Regions from separate parts of the Homo sapiens genome. Here region 1 is linked to region 2. Evidence: promoter capture Hi-C in human tissues and cell types (Jung and others, 2019). All regions are on one chromosome and are shown on one strand. Each heading gives the region's core, a stretch centred on a gene start or on the middle of the fragment in contact. The rest is flanking DNA. Distances are from core to core; before and after follow the strand shown. Region 1 has its middle 16 kb from the start of ARMC12. Region 2 holds the start of TEAD3 (TEA domain transcription factor 3).

Region 1 (6,549 bases), core at 3,508-6,007, 260 kb after region 2:
TATTTGAGCTTCAGGCCCCTCATCTATAAAATGCATATAATAATAGTACTGATTTCATGACGCTGTTGGGAAAATGAAAGGGGGATTATATGAGTTAACGAACGTAAGCCACAGTGTTCTGCATGCATTCCTCAAAGATGGGCTCTGAGGAGCTATGAAATCATCACTGAGAAAGCCGGGCAGAGTGGCTCACGCCTGTAATCCCAGCACTTTGGGAGGCTGAGGCGGGAGGATCACCCGAGGTCGGGAGTTCGAGACCAGCCTGACCAACACGGAGAAACCCCGTCTCTACTAAAAATACAAAACTAGCCAGATGTGGTGGCGGGCACCTGTAATCCCAGCTACTTGGGAAGCTGAGGCAGGAGAATTGCTTGAACCCGGGAGGCAGAGGTTGCGGTGAGCTGAGATCACGCTATTGCACTCCAGCCTCAGAGACAGAGGTGCGAGACTCCATCTCAAAAAAAAAAAGAAATCATCACTGAGAAAACAAAAGATCATCACTGGGGAGGTCCTTGGAGAGTGTTGCCTCCAGCATTTCTCCAGTCTCTTCAGGTTATGGGCACTGGGGAGTCCTAGAGTCCTCTATGAAGCGTGCTGAAAAGTCATTGAAACTTAGCTTTGGAAACCAGAACAATGGTGTGAGTAATATAACACCATAACCATGAAGTTTCCAGAAACAAGAAGACTGTCAAACCAAATATGGTCATCCATTTTCCAATTCCCCATTCATTTGCGTTTCCCAGTTGTTCCTTCATTGTTTTTTTTGTTTTTTTGAGACGGAGTCTCGCTCTGTCGCCAGGCTGGAGTACAGTGGTACAATCTCAGCTCACTGCATCCTCTGCCTCCCGGGTTCAAGCAATTCTCCTGCCTCAGCCTCCCGAGTAGCTGGGACTACAGGAGCGCGCCACAACACCCAGCTAATTTTTTGTATTTTTTAGTAGAGAAGGGGTTTCACCATGTTGGCCAGGATGGTCTCGATCTCCTGACCTCGTGATCCCCCCACCTTGGCCTCCCAAAGTGCTAGGGTTACAGGTGTGAGCCACCACGCCCAGCCCTCATTCACTGTTTTATCTGTGAATCCTTGCTGGGAAACAGTAAGGATTGCTAACGGTTTAAGAAAATGCTACGGGAGAGAAACCTAATGTTGGAGCTATTCCCAGCCTGAGACTGCTCGATCTAGGACAAAGAACCTGGTCCAGCCACGGGCTCCCGGTGTTCTTCAGAAGCAGGATTTGAAAACTAGTCTCGTCCAGGACCAACCCTGGCATTTTCCTGAAAGGAAAACAAACCCAAAATGGAAAAGTGACTTGCTCAAGGTCACATGACTGGTCTAGGGCAGAAATAGGATTAGAACCTCCTACTACTGAGCTTTTCTTTTGCCCTCACATTCTTCGGTCCAAGCCCCGTAAGAGTGGGTCATGGATTCTAAGCCCAAACCTATGGAAACTGAGGAGGATCTTGATGCTTCTGGATTTTAGAGGCCAGTTTAGGACTGAAGTACTTAAAGGAAATCTGTCCCCACTTAATCCCTGGCCCAAGGTCATATCACTCAGGTGGAAGAGGGAGGGTGTTTCTTGATGAGGATGGGCTGATGAGAAAGAGCCAGAGCCTATAGAGAGGCCAACCCCGTCACTGTCTCCCAGAATGAGTGGGCAGTCACTACCAGATCTGAATCAGCATCCCTTGTTTCCCTCCTGAGTTCAGGCCTGAGGCTGCTCCTTCTTGCTGCTGAATACACTGCAGCCACCCCAGTGGAACTTGTCAAATGCCGACGTTTCCTTTCGACCAGCTCCATGTGTGCCCATGTCACCAACAAGGTGTTGGGCATCACTTTCAAATTCTCCTCCCCACCACATCCACCTAGTTCCCCCATTTCCACTGCTACTGCCCTGTCCTCCACATCAGGACTTGCCTACTTCTTTCTTTCTTTCTTTTTTTTTTTTTTTGAGACAGGGTCTCACTCTGTCTCCCAGGCTAAAGTGCAGTGGAGCAAACACAGCTCACTGCAGCCTCGACCTCCCAGGCTCACGTGGTCCTTCCACGTCAGCCTCCTTGGGTAGCTGGGACTACAGGAGTGTGCCACCGCGCCCAGCTAATCTTTTGTATTTTTTTTGTAAAGACGAGGTTTTGCATGTTTCCCAGGCTGGTCTCAAACTCCTGAGCTCAAGCAATCCACCTTCCTCAGCCTCCCAAAGTGTTGGGATTACAGGTGTGAGCCACCACACTGGGCCTGACTTTTCCTCCTCCTGGTTTCCATCCTCTCCAGCCCTACGCACTCCAGGCTAATTTTATAATCACACATGGCACCATTCTCAAAAACCTTCAGGGGCTCCCCATTGCCATGGTGAAATCTTTCTCGGCATCAAAGCAAAGTCACGTGATCTGACAGGTATAAATGTATTCTCAGCAAAAGGTTGAGTTTTGTCCTCAAAGATGTGGTCACTGGACCCCTTTTTTACATGACGAAACCAAATGAATTAGCTTTGCATTCAAGGCTCTTCACAGTGTGATCCTCTTGCCTGCCACAAGCCTACTGTGCCACATCTCTGCTCCAGCCAAACTGGAGCAAACTAGTCATTGCTGCCCTAATCATACCATGTGTACTCTTGCTCCAAACATGTTTTCTTTTTTTTTCTTTAAATTACTATTATAAAGAGAAGATGCCTCCAAACATTTTTTTTTTTTCCTTTTTTTGAGACGGAGTTTTGCTCGTTGCCCAGGTTGGAGTGCAAGGGCGCGATATCTCGGCTCACCGCAACCTCCACCTCCTGGGTTCAAGCGATTCTCCTGCCTCAGTCTCCCAAGTAGCTGGGATTACAGGCATGCGCCACCACCATGCCTGGCTAATTTTGTATTTTTAGTAGAGACGGGGTTTTTCCATGTTGCCCAGGATGGTCTCAAACTCCCGACCTCAGGTGATCTGCCCACCTCGGCCTCCAGAGTGCTGGGATTACAGGCATGAGCCACCGCACCTGGCTTACTTTTGATACAACTTTCCTGCTGCCTAGAATGCTAGAATGGCCTTCCCTCTTCTTCCAACTGGGTTGTGCCTTCTAGTGTCATCAAAGTTGACGTCCCACTGCAGCCTAGATCTTTTTTCAAGCATACTAGCCTCTGGTGCACCCTGCAGCACTTCTCATCTGAACCTCTCACTTGGCATTTGGCAAATTAAAGCTTGAATCTTATATACCTTGTTCTTTTATTCTTTTTTGCAGTAGGACATATGTTTTTTGTTCTTTGTGGTTTTTTTCTTTTGAGATGGAGTCTCACTCTGTCGCCTAGGCTGGAGTGCAGTGGCATGATCTTGGTTCACTGCAACCTCTGCATCCCCAGGTTCAGGAGATTCTCCTGCCTCAGCCTCCTGAGTAACTAGGATTATAGGTGCCCACCACCATGCCCAGCTAATTTTTTTTTTGAGACGGAGTCTTGCTCTATTGTCCAGGCTGGAGTGCAGTGGCACGATCTTGGCTCACTGCAACCTCTGCCTCCCAGGTTCAAGCGATTCTCCTGCCTCAGCCTCCCGAGTAGCTGGGATTATGGACACGCACCATCATGCCTGGCTAAATTTTGTATTTTTAGTAGAGACCAAGTTTCGCCATGTTGGCCAGGCTGGTCTCGAACTCCTGACCTCAAGCGATCTGCCTGCCTCGGCCTCACAAAGTGCTGGGTTTATAGGTTTGAGTCACTGTGCCTGGCCTGCCTGCAGTAGGACATATCTGACTGCTTACCAAAGCCTTGAAGAGCCGGGCGTGGTGGCTCATGCCCTGCACTTTGGGAGGCCGAGACGGGCGGATCACGAGTTCAGGAGATGGAGACCATCCTGGCTAACGTGGTGAAACCCCATCTCTACTAAAAATAAAATACAAAAAATTAGCTGGATGTGGTGGCGGGCGCCTATAGTCCCAAGCTACTCGGGAGGCTGAGGCAGGAGAATGGTGTGAACCCAGTAGGCAGAGCTTGCAGTGAGCGGAGATCGCGCCACTGCATGCCAGCCTGGGCGACAGAGCCAGACACCATCTCAAAAAAAACAAAAACAGAAACAAAAACAAAAAAAACCTTGAAGGAAGAGCCTGCTCAGGGCAGGCACATGATAATGGCAATTGGCTGATGGTAATGAAAGGAATTGGCAGTGGGAAGATCAGATGGGAGTGGTGTATTATCTGCTGCCATGTAACAAATTATGAGAAAACTTGTGTATCAGCTTGGGTCTGATCAAGAGAGAAACCTCACAGTAATTTAACAGGAAATTTTAATATGATTATTAAAACAGGGGATTGGAGTAACAAAGAATTGTTTAGTAAGGAGTTATGAGAACCCTATGGAATAATGAATAGCTGACATGAGGAGCAGCCCCTACCTCCCAAGATACAGCACCCAAGAAAGAGATACCCTCTCCCCACCCAGGGCTGAGATCCAGACCTTGTTGAGTAGAGCACAGCCCACAGCTCACTAGGTGGCAGAAAAGTCACTGTACTGTCATGCCAGTGGAACTTGCCAGAAATATGCCCTCTAGGATGCCAGGGAAAGCTCTTTCCCAAGGAGGTGTGGAACCAGAGACTTTCGACTACAGAACTAACTGAGTGGGGTGTGCAGGGGAAGCTGCTTCCCACTGGGTGCTGCTGGCCTTCATGTGCTGTGGGAGGCGGCACTGGAGTACCTGTGGGTGCTGCAGGAGCCTGATGCGGCAGAAGCCACATGCACGCAGGTGGTATGTGAGGCAGAAGTTGGAGGTATTCTGCTTACACTACAGCCCAAGGTGGACAGTGCCAGGAGAAGCTGCTAGCCACTGGGTGTTGCTGGTTACTCTGGGAACTGGGCACTGAAAGCTGTTTGCAGAGCAGGAGCCTGTCAATCAAGCACACTAGAACCAGGAAGCAAAAACCTCTTCCTCCCAAAATGTCTCTCCAGCTCCCTTCCTCTTAGTCATTTAAATATCAATAAACATATGTTACTTCTCACAGGAATTTGAGAGCATCTTGACTGGGTGGTTCTGGCTCAGTCAAGCTGTGGTTACAGTCACGCTTTTGCCAAGGACTGTTGTTATTTGAAGGCTTGACTGGGGCTGGAGGATCCCCTTCCAAGACAGCGCACTTATGGGACTGACAAGTTGGTGCCAGCTGTTGGCAGGAGGCCTCAGTCTTTCTACACGTGGGCATCTCCACAGGGGTGTTTGAGAGTCTTCATGACATAGCAGCTGGCTTCCCTTATAGTAAATCGTCCAGGAGAGAACAGAGCAGACGCTGCAATGCCTTTTCTGACCTCACCTCAGAAGTCATACACTGTCACTTCTGCCACATTCTATTCATTAGAAGTCAGTCTAGCCCCCATTCAAAGGAAGGCAGTTAGGCTCTACCTATTAAAGGGAAGAATATCAAGGAATGTGTGAGCATTTAAAAACCACTACAGGGACACTGTCAACAAAGACTAATTGGACACCTACTGTGTGCTCAGCAGCTAGATGCATCTGTATCCCCACAGAGACAATCCCTGCCAAGAAGAAGAGAAATTTTATAACCAGTAGTTGACACTCCATCCTTTCCCTCTGTCTTTTTTTCCAGCTGTTTAGCTTGTTTTCTCAACTACAGGCCTCTTTGACCCTCAGGCAATTCTATTTACAAAGAAACATCTCTTCTCATCTTCTCATTTAATTCTAAGGTTTCAGAGAAGAGGAGTGGCTTGAATTGGATCTCCAGAGAGGAGAGAGAAGAGCTCTCCAGGTTGGGATAGTTGGACTTTACAGGAAGGGAAACCAATCAGAGTTTCCCTCTGATGGGATTGTGATGGGGTAGGGTGCTGGTAGATGATTTTGGCCAGGCAGATGGCCAGTTACTTCTCTAACTGATTACCTGAAGGAGATGTATGAGAGACAGACACAAAGGGAACTCCAGCCCCACTGCATGGCTTCCAGTAGGACCTCAACACAGGGTTCTCAAGCAAAACTTGGCTGGAGTCCCCAGGTGTGTCTTAAAACTTAAAGCAGGGGCCGGGTACCTGTAATCCCAGTGCTTTGGGAGGACAGGCAGGGGGATCACTTGAGGCCAGGAGTTCCAGACCAACCTGGGCAACATAGCAAGACCCCCATTTCTTTTCTTTTCTTTTTTTTTTTGAGAAGGAGTTTCACTCTTGTTGCCCAGCCTGGAGTGCAACAGCGCGATCTGGGCTCACCGCAACCTCCGCCTCTCGTGTTCAAGCAATTCTCTTGTGTCTCAGCCTCCTGAGTAGCTGGGATTACAAGCGCCCACCACTACGCCTGGCTAATTTTTGGTATTTTTAGTAGAGACGGGGGTTTCACCATGTTGGCCAGGCTGGTCTCGAACCCCTGACCTGACCTCAGGTGATCCACCTGCCTTGGCCTCCCAAAGTGTTGGGATTACAGGCGTGAGCCACCATGCAAGACCCCCATTTCTTTTTTTGTTTTTTGTTTTTTGTTTTGAGACGGAGTCTCACTCTGTCACCCAGGCTGGAGTGGCACGATCTCGGCTCACTGCAAGCTCTGCCTCCCTGATTTCACGCCATTCTCCTGCCTCAGCCTCCGAGTAGCTGGCACTA
Region 2 (6,309 bases), core at 3,810-6,309:
TCTGGGTGAGTGGGCACCTCCTGTCTTACCCCTTCCCCTGCACCAGCCCTGCTGGGAGGACGAGCTGAGCTGTGACCTTCCTGGGTCTAGCAGCCAGCAGTCCACCCCTGCAGGGACCCCAGCCCCCAAAGCATTCTCACTTGGAGTGAGAACATCACTCAAAATGTGGCAAGATCAGTGAAATCAGCAGTTTCCTCCCAAATCTCTGCCCTCAAACCTGAGCTGGGCTGACCAGCCGGGGGGGTCGAGGATGGGGAGGGCAGCTGAGGAGGGCTAAGGGAGGCTCCCACCCTCTCTGCCTTTTCCTCCCTCCTCCCCTACCCGCCCCACAGCGGGCCAGCTGTTCTCCAGCTGCCAGAAGCTCCCACCCTAGAAGTAGCCATGCTCTGGGGCAGCAGAGCAAGTAGGGATGTATCTGTCTCCCCCACCTCCAGCCCAAGGACCCCGGAGGGACCCTGCCAAGCAGCCACACCCTGCCAGGCTGGGGAGGGCTTCCCTCCTTCCTGGAACAGGGTCTCAATTTTTACAGGAGGAAGCAATTTGCAGAGCCCACTAGGAGGGAGGTGGGGGCCCCTCCACTCTCTCCCCACCCCCCGCCCTGCTTATTAATGTGCTTCCAATTTGGGACTGGAGATTCTCTGCCCCTCCTCCCCACACTACTTGGGAAAGGGGCTTTCTCAGGGAGCAGAGGGGGTTGGGATAGTCCCCCCAGGCCTCCTTCTGCAAAGCTCATCTCATCTGTTGTCACGCTCCTGCTCCCTGAAGCAGTATAGCGGGTAGGAGGGTGGAGACTCAGCCCTCAAGTCCCCTGTAGAGAGAAGGGCCCAGTTTCCAGACCTCCCTTCACCCCCTCCCTGGGACTGACTTATCTCCTCATCTTGTCCTGGTCCCAGGGTGGGAATCTCAGGTATCCAGTGAGAGACAGACTATAGGGGGTCACTGGGTTTCTCAGTTCTCAGTTACCATGCCAGACTCCTGGTACTCTGGGTCGCCCACTGGGCTCCCACCAGCCACTCAGTCAGTGCCCTCATGAGAGTCACGGTGTCATCTAAGAACAAATAGGTTTCCTCTGCGCCCTTCCTCTCGCTCGCATACACAGTTGCGTCACAGCCACTGTCCTGCTCATTCACTGTTACCCGCATCTCTCTCCTGCTGGGTTTTTAAAAATGTCTTTATTGTGATAAAATATACATAACATCAAGTTTACCATTTTAGCCATTTCTAAGTGTACAATTGAGAGGCATTAATTACATTCCTTCTTTGTTTTTATCAGTGTCTTTCTCATTGTCTTCCACATAGATGCCACACGTCAGGGACCACAGGCCCCCAAAAGCATCCCACAGAGCCTCCTACACGCCCTGCCTGGCACAGCCCTGGGGGTGTCACCCACACTACCCGAGAGTCCCAAACACGCTCAGATAGTGACCACCCACCCACAGCGCCAGCATCAGTCACGCCCCACGGTTTCTCTCACATACGGTGTCGCTTTCTGGTGCTCAGTGTCACCCACACACCGCATACCATATTCATGCTTGGCACATGTCGGATGGGGCCCACCTTGCTGGTACACACATCATACTGACACAGAGCTGGTCATGTTGTTTTACTCGCATGTAGTGTCACATGTAAGTCACACACAGACAAACCTGAGGCCATCTCACATGCTGCGTCACAACATGCAGGTCACAAGTGGTCACACCACAGCGTAACACATCACACAGATCGCCACTCATCCGGCTTCTCACGCACACGCGCCCGCGCGCTCACATACACACAGCATCGTGCGAGTGCGGTGTCCTTCACACGCAGGTCACTTGAGCATCAGAGCCACACCCAGTGTCATCTCCAGGTACACACAGATGGCTAGGCAGCCAGCTTCCTTCATCGGCACATCCTGGGTGATGCCCTGGCACACACAGAACATCCCCCATGCAGGTTCTCAGGTACAGAGGTGGCGGCACACCTGGACACATGAAGAGTCACCCAGTTTCTCTTATGGACGTGTATATCTGTCACACACACGAATGTCACAAAGCCACAGTTTCTCTCCTGCATACACCCAGCCCTGCACAAGTTGCTCTGACCAAGGTTCTCTTCCACACACATCCAGCCCCACAGAAGACAAGTCTCACCCACATAGAATGTCCCACTCATGGCTTCTCTCACACACATCCAGCGTCACACACAGTTGCATTCTCATTTCCCTCTAACACTTCCTGCCCTTTCAGGCCTGGCAGGGAGCACAGGAAACAATCGGCACTCTAGGAAACCCCAAGGGCTGAGGCTTTAGGGATGTGCAGGGGGATGAACCTCTCTGGCCCTAACCTCAACCTCCTGTGGGTCGGGGAAGACAGGCAGAGCCCTTTCCCTGGCAGGGTTCTCCCTGGAGGGAAGTGGCCCCTTCTGCAGACAGCCCAGGGCTGGCACAACACCAGGAGGGGAGGGGAGGGAAGGCAGGGCAAGGCCCCAGGGACAGTGCCGAGTGTGACCTGCTGACCTCCCCAGCTCTACCCAGAGGCAGATCCTCAGGGCCACCCCTGGGACCCCACAGCTTCTGCAGCCCCCATGTGGGAAGAAGAGGCTGCGACCTCCTAGCCCCTTCACAGAAAGCTGCAGCGTTTAGACCCCTGGGCTCCTCTCCCCATCCTGGGCGGGGAGGAGGAGGAGGGCAGGACCAGCGATTTCCACACTGAGCCCTGGGACCCCCACAGGTGTCTGGGAGTGGGGCAGAGGGTAGAGCCACCCAAGCGGCCTCTGAGCACCCTTTGTGCCATTCAGCCCTAACAGAACCCATGACCACTTCAGAGGCAAGATCCCCCAATCCACCAAGCCCCCCTGTCCCTTGACACCTGCCCCCCGCCACCTTTTCAGCCCTGTTCATCTGGCTGAGCTACTCCTCAGTCACCCCTTGGTTTGTCCTTGCCTTCTTCTTTGGGCCACTGGATCACCCACCCGCCTCTCCAGACCCCACCAAGTTCAGGTTCCATCATGGGAGAAGGAAGGCAAACTGGGAGACAGACTCTGGGAGGAGCTCAGAGAAAAGGGACTTGAGAAGTCATTCATTCCAAGCAGGGAAACTGAGGCCCAAAGGGGCCTGCCAAGATGGCGCAACTGGTTAAAGGTCCGGAGGGGACCAGATCCCTATTTCTTGACCACCTCTGTTGAGATATCTTCTCCTTTGATATTGTTGAGAATATCAAATCCTCCCGGTTTTAACATTCCTTCAGTTGGCAGAAAGTGCCAGGGTCTACAAACCTTTGGGTGAGGATGGGAGCAGGGCTCAGGACCCATGTGATGCTTCTGTACACTTAATGTGCTGCTCTGTCCTGGCAACCACTGACCACTCTAACAAGCCATTCCCCAGCCCAGATGCGCTCATTAGCATTAATGACGTTCCCTCCCTGGGGGGGTAGGGGAAGGCCCAAGAGCTTGGGACTCATACTGGCTCCTACCCTCTCCCTGAGGAGGGGGCATCCAGGGCCCCTGAAGTTACCCTTACTGGACAGCCTTGTCCTGGAAGATCTGTGCACTCTGCCCACTGGGTGAGCAGGGACCCAGAAGACCACAGAACCACATCCTTTAGGGAGTGCCCCTACGAGAGGGGTCTTGGTGGGAGGGGGGCTACAGGAGTCTAGAAGGGAGAGGACATAATTCCCCCAAATCTCCAACTTTTGAGGAAAGCCTCCCCTCCTTGCCCCAGGTGGCCCCAGCACTGGGGTGGAACATGTGTACAGAGAACCAGGCCACAAGAGACTGGATACGCAGAGCCGCTATGGGCACCAGCCCCTCTGAGCTGTGTCCAGCCCCTACCCCTATGCCCTGTTCTTCCGGACAACAAGTCCAGGCCTGACCTGGTTCTGCCCCTACCTGGAAAGAGGGAAGACACAGAAGAAGACAGCCCCTGAGAAGTCCGCCCCAAGGCCTCCTTCCCCCTCGCACTGAAAGAATCTCTCAGCCCTGGATCAGGGCCCCTCACCAGGAAAGTTGACAGAGCGGGGTCTCAATGACACTGCCCCAGGGCCCAGCTGGGCTGGAAAACAGATCCAGACCAGCGCTCCCAGCCCTCCCTCCCCTAGCAGGAATAAAGGGCATGACAGACAATGGTGGGGACCGGGGTAGGAAGCGGGAGACCAGCCACCCTCAAACCTTGTCAAGTCTAAACAAGGGCCCTGAGCAAGTGTGGGGAAGAAAAGGCCCCAAATCCAGACCCCTCCGAGCCAAGCTCACAGCGCTCAGGGCTGGAACTCTGAATCAGCACCCCGACGCAGGCGGCAGAACTGAAGGGAACGTGAGCCCCTCCCTGCCTCTCAGGGGACACACGGCCGGGGCGCGCGGCTTTGGTCCCAGACACCCTCCACAACCCAGCGCAGCCGCGGCACCGCGCGCAGAAACCGGCCTGGGCGCTGGGAGGCCGGGCCCGAGGCCTGCGTGGAGCTGAGGCCGGGCGGGCTCCGGGAGCGCGCGGGCCGGGAGTCCAAAGGGCGGCGGGGCCCGGGACTGGGCGCCCCGGATATGAGCTCCAGGGTGGCAGGCAGGCCCTCCACACTGTGCGGCCCCCGGATCCCCGCCCCGACCCCCCAAGCACGGACGGCGGGACAGGCGACGGCACAGGGGACACGGTCTCCCCGGCTTCCCCACCTTCCCGGACCAACTCGTCCCCGTCGCGGGGGGGTGGGGAGGGCGGGGGGCGGGGCTTCCCGGAGAGATTTTCCCCCTTCCCTCTAAACTTCCCGGCACCCCGATCCGGGGCTCCAGCTCCGGCTGGACAATAGCTCGGGGACCCAGTCCCCCTCGAGTGTCGCCCCCCCAGCCAGCCCAGCCGACCAACCAAACCACCTCTCCCGAGCGGGGCCTCCTCCCGGCGTCCGCCCGGCTTACCTGGTCCGAGCTCGCGGGGGCGCTCCGGCCGGGCCGCTCCGCCGGGCCCGAGGGAGCCGCAAGGGGGGCCGGGGAAGGGGGGTCGTGGGGAGGGGGCTGGCCGGAATGTGCGGAATGAGCCGGGCTGGAGCGGGAGGCGCCGAGCGCGGAGGAGGGAGCGAGCGGGACGGAAAGTTTGTGTTGAGGAGCCGGGGCGGGGGTGGGGGCTGCGGGAAGGAGGGGGCGGGGCGCGCAGGGGGCGGTGCTGGCCGGGAGGGGCGGGGCCGTCCAGCCGCGCTCGGGCCGCCTACCCCGCGGCCTCGCGACCCGGCCACCCCGGCTGGCGCGCGCCTGGGCGCCCCGCTCCTCGCCCGCCCGTGCGGAGCTGCCTTCCTCCCCCTGCGCTCCGGGCCTCGCCCCGCTCCCGGGCACCCGCCGGAATTTGGGGCTCCGGCCTGGGGCGGGGCCGAGGGCGGAGCCCTCGCCTCGCGGGCAGGGCTCCCGTCGGTGCCGGGGGCCGTGGGTGCCGCGTCACGAGGAGCCCGGCAGAGCCGGAGCGCACGGGCCCCGGGGCTCCCGGCCCCTCCACCCTAGTCCCGAGCCGCCAAGGCGGAGCGTACCCTCCAGCTCGCGGGCCTGCCCCCCACTCCCGGGGCCCCAGACCCGGCTCCGCCCTGGCGGCTGCGCCCGCCCTGCCGGGACCCGGTTTGTCTGGTTCTCCCCGCGTGGCTAGTTTCTCGAATTTCTTCTCCCTTTCTCCCTCTTCCCCGACCTCCGGGACCCTCCCTTTCGCCCCGGCTCCCCGGGCCCCCACGGGGGGCGTCTCGACGCTGTGCGGCCGCCGAGTTTCGGTAGGACCCGCGACGGGCGCGGGGAGGGGACGCGGGAGCGCCCGGGGCCTGGGCAGGAGTGGGACGGGGGTTGAGACTTCCAGCTCGCGCCTCGGACGCCTCCTGCCGCCTCGTTCTCCGCACGCGCTGAGGAACCACCGCTCCGCTTGGCCAAGGACGCGGCTTTATTGGGGATGTGGGTGCCTGGCCCTCGTCCCCCATCACCTACCCCCTCCTCCTAGCCCGCCCCAGCTCCTCGGAGCCCTAGCGCGGTCCCGGGGAGAGGGGAGGTTAAAACAACAATGACTACTGCTCCCGGACAGGAAGTGACTGGGGCGCGGGGAGGAGGGGGGCACAGCGGCGCAGGCGAGCTCCGAGACCAGATGTGCGGCTCCAACTCCAGATGTTCTTCATCTCCGTCCTACCCGCCGTCCGGGCTCCTCCTGCCTCGGCCTGTGCCAGGCTGGGGAGAGGACGGAGGTCACCGAGAGGCAGTGAGAGGTCAGCCCCGACACAGGAGCAGTTTTCCGCGGGAGCTTTGCTGGAGGGACCCTGCCAGCCTCCACTGAATCCTTTCCCCCACGCTGACGGGCTCTGGGGGCGCTGAGGGGCTGCTGGGGTC

Evidence for each region. The method cuts DNA at HindIII sites, captures the fragments that hold promoters and counts their contacts. A contact is called where the count stands out against the background at its distance.
Region 1: a contact is called between a fragment that was not itself captured here and the fragment with the promoter of TEAD3 in region 2, in 2 of the 25 tissues and cell types used here (mesendoderm cells and spleen).

Annotation. Positions count from the first base shown.
Region 1 is chr6:35,750,158-35,756,706 of GRCh38, forward strand. No RefSeq gene overlaps it. Among named protein-coding and RNA genes, the nearest start is that of ARMC12, 16 kb to the left of the region's middle. RefSeq lists an enhancer at 5,071-5,660. The HindIII fragment of the contact is 8,297 bases long and covers 610-6,549 here.
Region 2 is chr6:35,492,020-35,498,328 of GRCh38, forward strand. It overlaps TEAD3 (TEA domain transcription factor 3), which reads right to left and starts at 5,060. Exons shown (of 13, transcript NM_003214.4): 1 at 4,879-5,060. TULP1 (TUB like protein 1) reads right to left here. Exons shown (of 15, transcript NM_003322.6): 15 at 5,855-6,309. The coding sequence ends at 6,308. LOC124901309 (a long non-coding RNA gene) reads left to right here and starts at 6,114. Exons shown (of 2, transcript XR_007059561.1): 1 at 6,114-6,188. RefSeq lists enhancers at 1-807, 1-304, 3,304-4,089, 5,036-5,966, 5,967-6,309 and 1 more and silencers at 4,868-4,917, 5,098-5,227, 5,238-5,567. The HindIII fragment of the contact is 31,199 bases long and covers 1-6,309 here.